4 separate regions of the Homo sapiens genome follow, and all the other regions are linked to region 1. Evidence: promoter capture Hi-C in 16 types of primary human blood cells and fetal thymus (Javierre and others, 2016). All regions are on one chromosome and are shown on one strand. The core of a region is centred on a gene start or on the middle of the fragment in contact, and the rest is flanking DNA. Distances in the headings are between cores, read along the strand shown.

What was found. The method cuts DNA at HindIII sites, captures the fragments that hold promoters and counts their contacts. A CHiCAGO score of 5 or more calls a contact.
Region 2: a contact is called between a fragment that was not itself captured here and the fragment with the promoter of CD79A in region 1, in 1 of 17 cell types (non-activated CD4 T cells). The highest score is 6.3, in non-activated CD4 T cells.
Region 3: a contact is called between a fragment that was not itself captured here and the fragment with the promoter of CD79A in region 1, in 1 of 17 cell types (total CD8 T cells). The highest score is 5.7, in total CD8 T cells.
Region 4: a fragment that was not itself captured here is called in contact with the fragment with the promoter of CD79A in region 1 in 1 of 17 cell types (erythroblasts); the score reaches 5.6 in erythroblasts.

What each region holds. Positions count from the first base shown.
Region 1 is chr19:41,875,376-41,878,775 of GRCh38, forward strand. It overlaps CD79A (CD79a molecule), which reads left to right and starts at 1,904. Exons shown (of 5, transcript NM_001783.4): 1 at 1,904-2,008. The coding sequence starts at 1,930. RefSeq lists an enhancer at 569-638 and a silencer at 2,046-2,105. The HindIII fragment of the contact is 1,040 bases long and covers 1,340-2,379 here.
Region 2 is chr19:41,304,679-41,308,078 of GRCh38, forward strand. It overlaps HNRNPUL1 (heterogeneous nuclear ribonucleoprotein U like 1), which reads left to right. Exons shown (of 15, transcript NM_007040.6): 14 at 998-1,189; 15 at 1,771-3,109. The coding sequence ends at 1,887. It overlaps LOC105372401 (a long non-coding RNA gene), which reads right to left. Exons shown (of 2, transcript XR_935968.4): 2 at 2,861-3,400. Among named protein-coding and RNA genes, the nearest start is that of CCDC97, 3.8 kb to the right of the region's middle. The HindIII fragment of the contact is 1,980 bases long and covers 646-2,625 here.
Region 3 is chr19:42,438,475-42,441,874 of GRCh38, forward strand. All of the region lies in intron 1 of CXCL17 (C-X-C motif chemokine ligand 17), which reads right to left. All of the region lies in intron 1 of LIPE-AS1 (LIPE antisense RNA 1), which reads left to right. Among named protein-coding and RNA genes, the nearest start is that of CXCL17, 2.8 kb to the right of the region's middle. RefSeq lists silencers at 43-222, 1,901-1,990. The HindIII fragment of the contact is 3,145 bases long and covers 281-3,400 here.
Region 4 is chr19:42,414,169-42,417,568 of GRCh38, forward strand. All of the region lies in intron 1 of LIPE (lipase E, hormone sensitive type), which reads right to left. All of the region lies in intron 1 of LIPE-AS1 (LIPE antisense RNA 1), which reads left to right. Among named protein-coding and RNA genes, the nearest start is that of LIPE, 12 kb to the right of the region's middle. The HindIII fragment of the contact is 1,173 bases long and covers 1,204-2,376 here.

The sequences.
Region 1 (3,400 bases), core at 654-3,153:
GAGGCAGAGGTTGCAGTGAGCCAAGATCACGCCACTGCACTTCAGCCTGGGTGACAAAGCGAGACTCCGTCTCAAAAAAAAAAAAAAAAAAAGTAACACAGGAAATAAAACCAAGACAAGATGAGCTCTCTGTGTCTCTGTGTGTCCCTCCCCAGACCCAACCCTGGCGTCCCCCAGAGGTAACCCCTCCCAGGAACTGGGCGTTTGCCACTCCCCTGCACGGGTCTACACCTCTGCTACAAACGTGTGTCCCTAAGCAGCGGACGCCTTTTGAAAACAAGTCAACTGTATCATGCTACGATATTTTTTCTGATGTTTGTGCTGTTTCTGAGACAGCCTTATGACACCTTCCCCTATTCTGTAGCATTCTGTTGGCTCACTTTGCCACAGTGTATGCACCCATTCTCCCACAAATGGACTTTTCATTTGCTTCTCAATGTTTGCTACCAAAAATCTCCCTGCAATAAATTTATTTTATATATCCCCTTGTATGTGTGTGAGGGTCCCCTAACTGCTCACAAATATCTCAGCAACTCCGCCCTCCCCACTCAGACCTCATTTCCCTCCTACCAGACATGCTCAAAGGAAACTGGGAGCAACACAAAGATGACTTTGAATCTCTGTCCACCACCCCTAGACTGTATGACACCCGCAAGTGACAACCTCCCCTCTCTGGCCTCGGTTTCCCCCTCTGTAAAATGGGGGATGGCCTACCTTGCCAGTCATGGCAGGTCAATATAAAACAACTTCTGGCTGTGCACAGTGGCACATGCCTGTAATCCCAGCACTTTGGGAAGCTGAGGCAGGAGGATTGCTTGAGGCCAGGAGTTCAAGACCAGCCTGGGCAATATAGCAAGATCCCATCCCTCTTAAAAAAAAAAAAGAAGAAAAATATATGTTGTTGTTGTTATTATTGTTATTATTAGAGACAGAGTTTCGCTTTTGTCACCCAGGCTGGAGTGCAATGGTGTGATCTCAGCTCACTGCAACCTCCACCTCCTGGGTTCAACTGATTCTCCTGCCTCAGCCTCCTGAGTAGCTGGAATAATAGGCATGTGCCACAACATCTGGCTAATTTTGTATTTTTAGTAGAGATGGGGTTTCGCCATGTTGGCCAGGCTGGTCTCAAACTCGACCTCAGGTGATTCTCCTGTCTCAGCCTCCCAAAGGGCTGGGATTACAGGCATAAGCCACCATAGCTGGCCTGTTTTTTTAAAAAAAGAATTCCAGTAAAGAGCTGATCATGGTTCTCACTCCTTGAATACCAGGAACACCATCTCGTATCACATAATGAGACAGGGAGACATTCTGGTCCTCATCTCACAGATGAAAAATGTCAAGCTTCGAAGGATCAAAGTGCCCACCTAGTCACACGGGTAGTCAGCCACAGGTCAGCCTGCCTTATTTATTCTTCATGAGTATTTATAGTGACTAACATTTACTGGGCGCCTACTGTGGGCCATTTCTGTGCATGTGACAACCCCTTTAAGTCCTTGTTTCTAATCCCAAGAAGCAAGGAAATGGGGTCAGGGAAGGGACAAGGTTTGCCCAAGTCCAGGCAGGGGGAGAGGTCAAGCTCAGAACCATCACCTGCCCATGACACATGCCCAGGACTCAGGTTCCCTAGGCTTCCTTCCAAAGGCTCAGCAGTGACGAGCCAGCCCTTGAACCAGCCTCTTCCCCCACCCAAGCAGCCACCTCTCAGGGGAATTGTGGCCACCACAGGTGCAGGGAGCAGTTTCTCTCCACTCACAGCCTGAAGCATACCCGGCAGGGGCTGTCCCCAGGCCCAACAAGCAAAGGGCCCAGTAGCGAGGGCCACTGGAGCCCATCTCCGGGGGGCTGGGCAGGAAGTAGGGTGGGGTTTGGGGTAGGGATCTGGTACCCTGGGACTGCTGCAACTCAAACTAACCAACCCACTGGGAGAAGATGCCTGGGGGTCCAGGAGTCCTCCAAGCTCTGCCTGCCACCATCTTCCTCCTCTTCCTGCTGTCTGCTGTCTACCTGGGTATGTGGCCAAAGGGCAGGAACTGGCGGGAGGTGGGGGAAGCTGTGGAGGCTGCAGAGAGGGCACAGGCAGAGGGAAGGGGGCTCAGGGAAAGGGGAAGAGGAGGCAGAGGATAGGGGACCCAGGGAAGATGCCTATAGAAATCGTATCTGTGCCAAGATGGGCCAAGGTGGGGCTGGAGGGAGCCCAGCGAAGGAGAAGGGGCGTCCACAGTCTCACACAGGGAGGCAGGAGCAAGAGTCACCTCCCCCACCTCCTGTTCCCCACAGGCCAAAATAAGGAACTAAAGTTGCTCTTGACTGAGCACCAGGGCTGGGGGCAGGAAGGGGACTTAGGGGTAGCAGCATTCAGCGTCTGTCAAGGGGAGAAAAAGCTTTCTCTGCCTTAAACCTCAGGTGCCTCTCTCTGTTGGGAGTCCCTTCTCAGCACTGGGGGAATGGGTGTCTCATGGACTCCCCCTCACCTGCTCAAGGACAGCTGGCAGGGGCTGTGGCCACGCTAACCCAGGAGTTCAGAGAAAAAGGTTCCCCACCCAAGGGGACACTGGGAGCAAGGATTGGAGTTCACGTCTGAGTCTTAAGCCCGTGACGATGAGGGTGCTCGGCCCCTCTCCCCATCTCTTCCTCCTTCTCTCTTCCTCACCTCCCTCCTCCACCTACCTCCAGAAGAGGGGACTGGCCATGTGGGAGGCCTGGCTGAGAGCTGGGGCTTCCCAGAGGAGCCCGGATTGGACACTGCAGCCAGCCTGAGCCGCCTCGTCTCACTCAGAGACACCCCCAGTCTCCACCCCGCTCTGAGCCCCTTCAATCACCAGCAGCCCAGCCCAAGGACTGAACTCACCCCTGACCCCTAGGTTGACACATACAACTTACAGAGAATGAGGGCCAGGCACAGGGTCACAGGCCAGGGCAGGCCACAGACTGGCTCCTCAGCCCAGGCAGGGAGAGGCCAGGGAGCCAAGAGTTTGAACCCAGTGCCACTCCTGACTGCCTGGTGATGCTGGCAACCCGCCTGCCCTCCCAGAGCCTCAGCCATCCCTCCTGTAAAATGGGGCTAAGGAGAGAACCTACTTCTAGGGTTCTGTGAATGATTACACAAGAAAAAGCGCCAGGTGCTGGGCCTGGCTGAGGCTGGGGTGCAAAAATGGACCGGGAAGGCTGCGGGAGGAGGGGACGCCTGCACTGCTTCTGGAAGGAGCTGTCTGGACAGCGGTCCTCCAGTGCCTGGAACAAACATCCAAAATCCAGAGAGTTCACAGGGCCAGAGTACAAAGTGGGTATGCGGGAGGGGGGCAAGAGATGGCGCTGCAGAGGTGAGAAGGGCCTCCCAGGGGTCTTACCATCCCAGGGAGTCTCATTCTCCTCTCCCAGGATATCCTCACCCACCCCAACC
Region 2 (3,400 bases), core at 386-2,885, 570 kb before region 1:
CTGAGGACTTGCCCTCTGCACAGAGAGCTTCAATCCTGAGCAGCTCCAGGCTCAGTTCCCATTCTTGGAAAGCCAGTGCCCTGGCTCTGGTATGCACAGGCTCCTGTAAACCAGAGAGGTTTTCAGTTATCGCACAGCCATTTCCCAAGCACTTTCCTCATGCCGGGCCTGGAATCAGCTGCCAGGAGACCAATGGATGGTTCCCAGGCCCAGCTAACTAGAATATTTCTTAGAACAAGAGTTGGGCAGGCACAGATCCAAACCCCCAGCCCCACAACATCCTGTTTCTGTGAGCTTGGACAAATAGCTTCCCGTCTCTGGGCCTCATTTTCCTCATAAAGGTGTTAGTAGAAGTCCCTTCCAAGGTTTGTTGTGAGGAATGGGTGGCACTATAGCTCTGGGACTAGGCAGACCTGGGGTCAAGTCCTTTTTCCTTGGCCCAGAAATTTCATCTTGAGCCTCAGTTTCTTTCTCTTTAAAATGGGGCTAGTGGGACCTACCCCTAGGTTCTATATGGAGATTATATGATGTAATGATCCAACCTGTACTTGGGAAGCACTTAGTCAATTGCCACTACTGTTTCTCAGCAGATCTTCCAGTAACAACTACCACCACCTGTTGAGTACCCAGTGGTTTATACACACAAGCTTATTGGATACCCAGGGCAAGCTAAAGGAGTTGTTCTTGTTCTATTGTGATTCTCATTTTATAAAAAAGAAAACTGAGATTTCAAGAAGTGCCGTGTACCTTGCTCCCTGGGGGTCTCAGAGCTGGGGTTAGAGTCCACATCACAGCCCTGGGGCTTGCCCTTCATCCTGCCCTACCATGGCATGGAGCTGGCTCTCCTCCTTCTCAGCCCACAAACAATGTCCACTAGGCAAGGGAAGGGCCCCTGTGGGCCAACCACTTAAAAAGGCCCTTTTTCCATCCCAGCATTTCACATCTGCAGATTTCCTCTATTTCACAGAGCTTTGGCTTTTTTCCCTCCACTTTCCAGCCGAGTTACAGCCAGCCACCCTACAACCAGGGAGGTTACAGCCAGGGCTACACAGCCCCACCGCCTCCACCTCCACCACCACCTGCCTACAACTATGGGAGCTACGGCGGTTACAACCCGGCCCCCTATACCCCACCGCCACCCCCCACTGCACAGACCTACCCTCAGCCCAGCTATAACCAGTATCAGCAGGTAGGTGCCAGACTGGGGGCCAACTGGATGGAGAGACTTCCATGGGCCCCTCCTGGGTGTGTATTCCCAGACTTAAGTCCCTGCTTATCCCTAAAAAGACAGCCTGCTGGCCTCGGCCTGGCGTTCATCTGGTGCAGCCATTCCATTTGGTCAACACTTCTGCACTGGTTGCTAGGTAATTGGTATCCTAGCCCCCTCCACAGTCTAGCAAGTGAAGGGGAAGGGCTGGCCTAAGTACCAGGGGCCTCAGAGTCCTCTTTCAGCACCATAGACAGGGGGCTCCAAATCCTGCTGCAGGTTGGTGCCCAGGCCCCCATACCTGTTACTAAATCTTTTGACTATGATATCTAGCTATACCCAAAAGGCACTGGGTTGACAAGCTGAGACCTGGGCTTCAGTCCCTAACTGCCTACCTGTGTGGTGTCAGGTCTTTCCAAGGTGCCTTGATTTCTCTGTCAGGGGACCTGTGTTCAACTGTTGTCACTGCAGCTGTCTCTGCCCTAGGTGAGGGTGGGGCTGGTGGGGAGGCTAAATGTGTGGTGGATGCAGGACAACTTGGTGTTCTTGGTTTCTTTCCCCAGTATGCCCAGCAGTGGAACCAGTACTATCAGAACCAGGGCCAGTGGCCGCCATACTACGGGAACTACGACTACGGGAGCTACTCCGGGAACACACAGGGTGGCACAAGTACACAGTAGCCAGTGTGACCCAGAGGCTCCCGGAGGCCCCTGCCGGCTTCCTCCACCAGCGCCTGCCTCGGCCCCTCCTCTGCCCCCGCCAGATCCCGTGGTGCTGGGGATGGGGTCATCCCAGGGCTGCCTCCCTCCAGCCCACTGCCTCCCCTCTGAGGGGCTTCCTTCCCCTCCATAGGGCCAGGCATTTTTTTCTGGATTCAAACAGGCAACAATGACCTTTTATTTTCTGTTTGTCCCCACCTCCCCAGCCTTCCACCTCCTGTTCTTCCTACCTTCTTCCTTTTTGACTAAATAATCCCCACCTCCCTTGATCATACAGTGAGGCTACAGTGACTGAGGGGAGAATCCCCTCCTGTTCACTCTCCCAACCCTGCTCCAGCCCCTCAGCTTCCCAGACCCTCATGCAGTTGGTTGTAAATTCTCCCAGGAGCTGTTTTACTGTCTACTTTTCAGGATTAAAAAAAAAATCAAAACTTAAAAAAAAAAAAGTTTAAAAAGCAAAATGGGGAGGGGGAGGAAGCAGTGACTTTTTTTTGGTAATTATGCGCTTTTTTTTAATTTTTAGAATTTGTCTTTTTACTGTGGGTGGGCTGTTGATATTTCATCAAGATAAGCATTTCTTTCCTGAGTTCAGGTGACTGAGGAAGAGCCACAAAACAAAACACAACAAAACCAAACCACAGAATCATCTTTAACCCAACTTTTTATACGATGCCCCAGTTCCCCATAACTTTGCACACAAGCTTCTGTGTTCAGTTGAATTGTAACTGCTTTTTGTATTTGGAGAGAGTGACTATTGAACTTGAAACCTTTTATTCCGGGCGTCTTGGTAGTTTCTGGTGGGATTCAGTGGGTGAGAGGGAAGAAGGGGAGGTTGGGGGGCTCCTTCCCTTCAGAACTTGAAGTTTCTCCCACTGCCTCCTCTCCAGTGGTCTCCCAGGTGCCAGACCCAAAAGCTTTTCCTACAGTGATACCCTTTATTTTTACTTCCCCTTGACTCATATGTTTTAACATGATTTTAACAAACTGCACTTATTAAGAAATGTGTTTGCCCTGTTTTGTTTGGTTTCGTTTTGTTTTCTTTGAATAAATGACATGGCACCTCCTAGCAGGAAGGAAGCAGGGTTGAAACCCTGAAGTGTTACTGCAGTTGGCCGTTAATTGGGGTGGGGGCCTCTTTAAAGGGAAATTATTTACTCATTCATTAAACAACTTAACTGAGGGATTCATGTGCCTGGCCCCGATTTTGGTGCTAAAAATGCACGCTTAAACAAGGGTCCCTGGTTTAAAATCCACTAGTTCATTTTTAAAGTGCTTCTCTTGTTCTCTACCTCTCACAGTCTAAAATCCCTCCAGGAGTTTTTGAGTAAAGGACATGGAACAGGCCTCTAGGTGGAGGGATGGGTGGGACTGATGGGGCAGAGACCAGGGCTGGTTTGTTTGGCATCATCACTGGGCATCCACAGACCACCTGCCTCAGGCCTGGCCTGTGTGCAGCACGGAGGACAGTTCCTGC
Region 3 (3,400 bases), core at 603-3,102, 560 kb after region 1:
CTCTCTCTTTGTCTCTTTCTCAAGATAACAATATTTTTGGACCACTGTTGGCGGGTAACTGAAACTGCGATTAAGTGGGGACTACTGTACATGAGTGTGCGTGTGTGTTATTTCCCAGCTCTGACCACTAGAGGGCCTAGAAGCACCAGCACCTACTAGCAATGGACCTATCAGTCAGTGCCCATAGTCTGTAAATATCATTCTCCCATGAAAGGAACTAGGGCTTCCAGGAAAAATAGCTGATCCAGGGCTGGGGCAGAAAAACACAAGAGGAGCCCAAAGCTTCTTGTGGTGTCAGAAAGTAAGGAGCTGCTCAAAAAATGGTGGAGATGTGTCTAAAGGTCACAGAAGCCAACTAGAAGGAGCTCCCAATGGCCAATTTTGGGACAATATGAGCAACATAATAAATAATGATAGTAGTGGATTCCAACCCATAAATACTCATGAGTCCATGCTGATATAAATAAATAACTGAACAAATAAATAAATAAGGAAGAGGCTAGGCATGGTGGCTCACGCCTGTAATCCCAGCACTTTGGGAGGCCAAAGTGGGGGGATCACTTGAGGCCAGGAATTAGAGACCAGCCTGGCTAACATGACAAAACCCCGTCTCTACTAAAAATACAAAAATTAGCTGGGTGTGGTGGTGTCTGCCTGTAGTCCCAGCTACTCAGGAGGCTGAGGTGGGAGGATCGCTTGAGCCCAGAAGGTGGAGGCGGCAGTGAGCCAAGATCACACCACTGCACTCCAGCCTAGGCAACAGAGCAAGACTCTATCTCAAAAAAAAAAAAAAAAAAAAAGAAAAAGAAAAAGGAATAACTCTTTCTTATGGCAGAATTCCGATTAAATAAATGTAGAAGGAACAATGGAAGTAGAAAATCACTATTTGGCCAACACCACAGTAATAATTCTTTATAGGAAACAATCATCCATAGATTCTAAAAGTTAATATTAAAAGTATGATGATGCCATAACTGGTGAATAACAAGAAAAAAAAAAGTATGATGAGAAGAAACAGGCTATTTACATATTTCCAAAGTGTCTCTCCACAAGATACTTATTAATTACAATAAGATGAATAGTAACTTTACAGTAGAGAAACCTGGCAGACACCACCTGAACCAAGTGCTTAAAGTGAACCTCATCAGTAATGAGAGATATCGACATCCTGGGGCTCTTGCTGGGATGTCCAGAGAAGGATACATCACTTCTGAAGTATTCTTGCCCAAAATGTGTAGCCGGAAATATCAGACAAACCCATATTCAGGGGGCATTCTACAAAACAACTGGCTAGAACTCTTCAAAAGTGTCAAGGTCCTGAAAGAGAGGGAAAGACTGAGAAACTATCCCAGGTTGGAGGAGACCTAGGAGATCTGACATTTTATTCAGTGGGATCCCAGATTGGAGTCTGGAGCAGAAAAAGGACATGAGTGGGATGATTAGCAAGATTTGAACATTTGTAGATTAGTTAATATTATGGTATCAGTGCTAATCTCCTGGTTTTGATAATTGTATTATGGTTACATAAGATATTGTTTGAAAACAATTGGATGAAGGCTGTACTGGAACTCTATTTTTACAATATTTTTCAAAGTCTGAAAAATGAAAAGTAAGAAAAAGTAAGAAATGCATTAGATTTGTGAGGACAAATGAGATAGTAAGTGTGAAGTGATTAGAACAATGCTTGTGATATAGGAGTTCTTAATGTGTCTGATATTATAAGTAATTTTATAATTAAATAATATTATAATTAATGAATAATCTGTTATTTTAAGTAATTTATTTCCTAATGACCTCATATATTCTCACTTATTTCTATTTCCCTTAACCCTGTGAAAAGCATATTGAGCATGTATGTGATTAAGAGATAAAATAAGATTAGACTTTATTCTGAGATTTATTTTGGGGATGGAGGAGCTATTATTTCCTTTAGCCACTAAGTAGCTCAGACTCAGGCCTGCACTGCAAAACTTTGCTTGGCTGGGAAACAAGATTTGAGCCCGGCCGCCACCCACTCGACGTGGTTTGTGATGGCGCCCCCTGGTGGCGCAGGGAGCTTTCCCCAGTTCCTCACCCTCGTGCTTTAGGAGCGACTTAGAAACTACTCAGTCCATTTATTAAACCCTTTCTAGGACACGCTGCGGATCATTTAATCTTCACAAGTGTGTGTGACAAGTGGTATTTTCTTCATTTTAAGATGATAAAACTGAAACTCAAAAAAGTGAGGCGACTTGTCTAGGGTTGCAAAGTGTGTGGCAGAGCCAGGATCTAGGTCCCCCTGACTTCCAAGCTGAGTGTAAAGGTCTAGGTGAGTCTAAAAGTGTGGCCATGCAGAGAAGTATTGGTGTAGAGCAGTGGTTGTTGACCAAGGGTGGTTCCCCCTCCGGGGTCATTTGGCGATGTCTAGAGATATTTTTGGCTGCCATAACAGGGGTTTGGATGAGGGAGAGGGGAGGCTGCTATTGGCATGTAGGGGAGAGAGGCCACGCGGATGCTGCTGAACATCTCACAATACACAGAACAGCCCCCACCGCAAGGAACTGTTCAGCCCAAATGTCAGTAGAGCTGCTATGAAGCCCTGGTTTGATTTAGCAACCTGAGGATGCATTCTTGCAGTTAGCTAATGTTTGCTGAGTACTGAGCTGGATAGCGTGAGGGATATGGAAACAGTGCACCAGTCTGTGTCACCAAGTAGTTTGCAGCCTAGAAGGACAGGGGGTGGGGGCAGGAAAGGCACATGAAGGCCCTCAATATAAGGCAGCAGATGATAAGTGCAAGAAGAGAGTGTCCAGCAGGGCTAAGCCAGCGCTCAGGAGGGAGACCACATGTCTGGCTGTGGGAGGAACTGAAGGAAGCTGTGGGAAGGTGGTTTTGAGCTGGGTGTGTGAGCAAAGTTGAACTGGTGGAAAAACACAATACCTGTTCAGGGAAGGGCAAACAGGTTAGTTTGGTTGGAGAAATAGTATTTTTAGTGAGTAGAGGGAGGTACACTAGAAAGGCAGGTTGGGGCTACAGCTTTGAATCCAGGCAGAGGACTCTAGCCTGGGTGTCTGTCATAGTGATGGAAAAGTCTTCCCTTTCAGAACAGTGGTCTAGGCCCTAGGGCTATGGGGCTTAACAGCTTCCAGAGCACTCTCTCTACAAAGGAGGGGATGTTGGAAATTGGGGTGGAGAAGGGAGAATGCCTCCTGATTTTAGGACCAAGTTGATGCTGAGTATGTAACATAGCCATTTCACCTCAAAGTGGCCTTTGGGGAGATGGTGCTCACAAGCGGAAATATACATGGGGATCAGGTCTTTTCTGCGTGGTTGCTCTGTGCAGGGCTGGGCCACTTTATAGTGAAAGCTGGAGCAGATTTGGAACCCCTAAGCTAAAGTCGGCTTCCCAAAATGTGAGCTG
Region 4 (3,400 bases), core at 540-3,039, 540 kb after region 1:
GAGGCTGAGACAGGAGAATCACTTGAACCCAGGAGGCAGAGGTTGCAGTGAGCTGAGATCACGCCACTGTACTCCAGCCTGGCGATAAAGCGAGACTCTGTCAGAAAAGAAAGGAAAGAAAGAAAGGAAAGGAAGGAAAGAAAGAAAGGAAAGAAGAAAAGAAAAGGAAAGAAAGATGGCCCAAGCCCTTGCTGGCGACCCTGGATGAGTCTGTTTTCCTCATCTGGAAACTGCACTTGGCTGTTCTGCTGGCTCAGGGTGGGAGACATAATTTATAAGTGGGGCCATGGCCGGCATGTTCTGCATGTGGTTTGCTTTGTGGGCTCACTTGGCCTTCCTGAGATGGTGTATTGGGTGATTTTTCTCTGCGGCACTTGTCACCATCTAGCATACTATACAGTTTACTACAGGAATACCTTGCTTCACTGTGCCTCGCACATACTGCATTTTTTACAAATTGAAGGTTTGTGGCAACCCTGCGTCAAACCAGTCTGTTGGCACCATTTTTCTGACAGCAGTTGCTCACTTTGTGTCTCTGTGTCACATTCTGGTAATTTTCACAGTGTTTCACACTTTTTCATTATTATTATATTTGTTATGATGATCTGTGATCAATGATCTCTGGTGTTACTATTGTGAGTGGGGGCACCACCAACCATGTCCACGTAAGAGGGCGAACTTTACCGATTAATGCTGTGTGTGTTCTGACTGCTCCACTGACCAGCCATTTCCCCCATCTCTCTTCTCGAGCCTCCATATTCCCTAAGACATACAATATTGAGGCCGGGCACGGTGGCTAATGCCTGTAATCCCAGCACTTTGGGAGGCTGAGGCAGGTGGATCACTTGAGGTCAGGAGGTTGAGACCAGCCTGGCCAACATGCTGAAACCCCATCTCTACTAAAAATACAAAAATTAGCTGGGCATGGTGGTGTGTGCCTGTAATCCCAGCTACTCGGGAGGCTGAGGCAGGAGAATCGCTTGAACCCGGGAGGTGGAGGTTGTAGTGAGCCAAGATCACACCATTGTACTCCAGCCTGGAAAATAGAGCGAGAGTCTGTCTCAAATAAATGAAATGAGATGAAAAATAGAATAAAATAAAATAGAAATCAGGCCAATTAACAACCCTACAATGACCTCAAAGTGTTCAAGTGAAAGAAGAGTCTTATGTCTCTCATTTTAAATCAAAAGCCAGAAGTGATTAAGCTTAGTGAGGAAGGCATGTCCAGTGCTGAAACGGGCTAAAAACTAGGCCTCTTCTGCCAGTTAGCTAAGTTGTGAATGCAAAGGAAAAATTCATGAAAGTAATTAAAAGTGCTACTCCAGTGAACACATGAATGATAAGAAAGTGAACCAGTCTTAGCTGGGCATGGTGGCTCATGCCTGTAATCCCAGCACTTTGGGAGGCCGAGGCGGGCGGATCACGAAGTCAGGAGATCGGGACCATCCTGGCTAACACGGTGAAACCCCAGCTCTACTAAAAATACAAAAAATCAGCCGGGCGTGGTGGTGGGTGCCTGTAGTCCCAGCTACTAGGGAGGCTGAGGCAGGAGAATGGCGTGAACCTGGGAAGCGGAGCTTGTAGTGAGCCGAGATCGCGCCACTGCACTCCAGCCTGGGTGACAGAGTGAGACTCCGTCTGGAAAAAAAAAAAAAAAGTGAACTAGGCTTATTGTGGATATGGAGAAAGTCTGAACGGTCTGGATAGAAGGTCAAACCAGCCACATTTCCTTAAGCCAAAGCCTAATCCCAAGCGAAGCCCTATCCCTCTTCAATTCTTTGAAGGGTGAGAGAGGTGAGGAAGCTGCAGAAAAAAGGTTGGAAGCTAGCAGAGGTGGATTCATGAGATTTAAGGAAAGAAGGCATCTCTGTAACATAAAAGTGCAGGGTGACGGCCGGGCATCGTGGCTCACGATTGTAATCCCAGCACTTTGGGAGGCTGAGGCAGGTGGATCACCTGAGGTCGGGAGTTTGAAACCAGCCTGACCAACATGGAGAAACCCCATCTCAACTTAAAATACAAAAAAGAAGCCGGGCGTGGTGGCGCATGCCTGTAATCCCAGCTACTTGGGAGGCTGAGGCAGGAGAATCACTTGAACCTGGGAGGCGGTGGTTGCAGTGAGCCGAGATCGTGCCATTGCACTCCAGCCTGAGCAACAAGAGTGAAACTTTGTCTCAAAAAAAAAAGTGCAAGGTGATGTAGCAAGTGCTGCTGGAGGAGCCGCAGCAAGTTATGCAGAAGATCTAGCTAAGATCATTGATGAAGACGGCTACATTAAGCAACATATTTTCAGTGTAGATAAAACCACCAGGTATTGGAAGAAGATGCCATCCAGGACTTTCCTAGCTGGAGGGGAGGTCAGTGCCTGGGCGCCAAAGCTTCAAGGCCAGGCTGACCCCCTTGTTAGGGGCTAATGCAGCTGGTGACTCAGTTGAAGCCGGTGTTCATTTATCATTCCAGAAATTCTAGGGCCCTCAGGATTACGCCAAATGTACTCTGCCTATGCTCTTAAATGGAACAAAGCCTGGATGACAGCACGTCTGTTTACAGCATGGTTTACTGAATATTTCAAGCCCACTGTTGAGACGGACTGCACAGAAAACAACAAAATATTTCTCAATGACAATGCATGTGGTTACCAAAGGGCCCTGGTGGAGTAGATTAATGTGTTTTCATGCCCGCTAACACATGATCTGTTCTGCAGCCCACCAGCCAAGGAGTAATTTCGACTTTTAAGTCTTGTTATTTGTTATTATTATTATATTTTTTTGAGACGGAGTCTCGCTCTGTCGCCCAGGTTGGAGTGCAGTGGCGCAATCTCAGCTCACTGCAAGCTCCGCCTCCCGGGTTCACGCCATTCTCCTGCCTCAGCCTCCTGAGTAGCTGGGACGACAGGCGCCCGCCACCACACCTGGCTAATTTTTTGTATTTTTAGTAGAGACGGGGTTTCACCATGTTAGCTAGGATGGTCTCGATCTCCTGACCTCGTGATTCGCCTGCCTCGGCCTCCCAAAATGCTGGGATTACAGGCGTGAGCCACTGCGCCCGGCCAATTTCAACTTTTAAGTCTTATTATTTGTTATTCTTATTTTTAAAATTTTTAGTTTTAGAGATGGATTCTTGCTGTGTCACCTGGGCTGGAGTGTAGTGGCACGATCATACCTCACTGCAGCCTTGAACTTCTGGGCTCAAGTGATCCTCCTACTTCAGCCTCCTGAGTAGTGGGGACTACAGATGGGCACCACTATGCCTGGTTCATTTTTTTTTTTCCAGGTTTTTAGAGACAGAGTCTTGCTATATTGCCTAGGCTGGTTTTGAATTCCAGGCCTCAAGAGATCCTCCTGCCTTGGCCTCTTGAGTAGCTGGGAGAGTCACTGCATCTGGCTAATTTTTTGTGTTT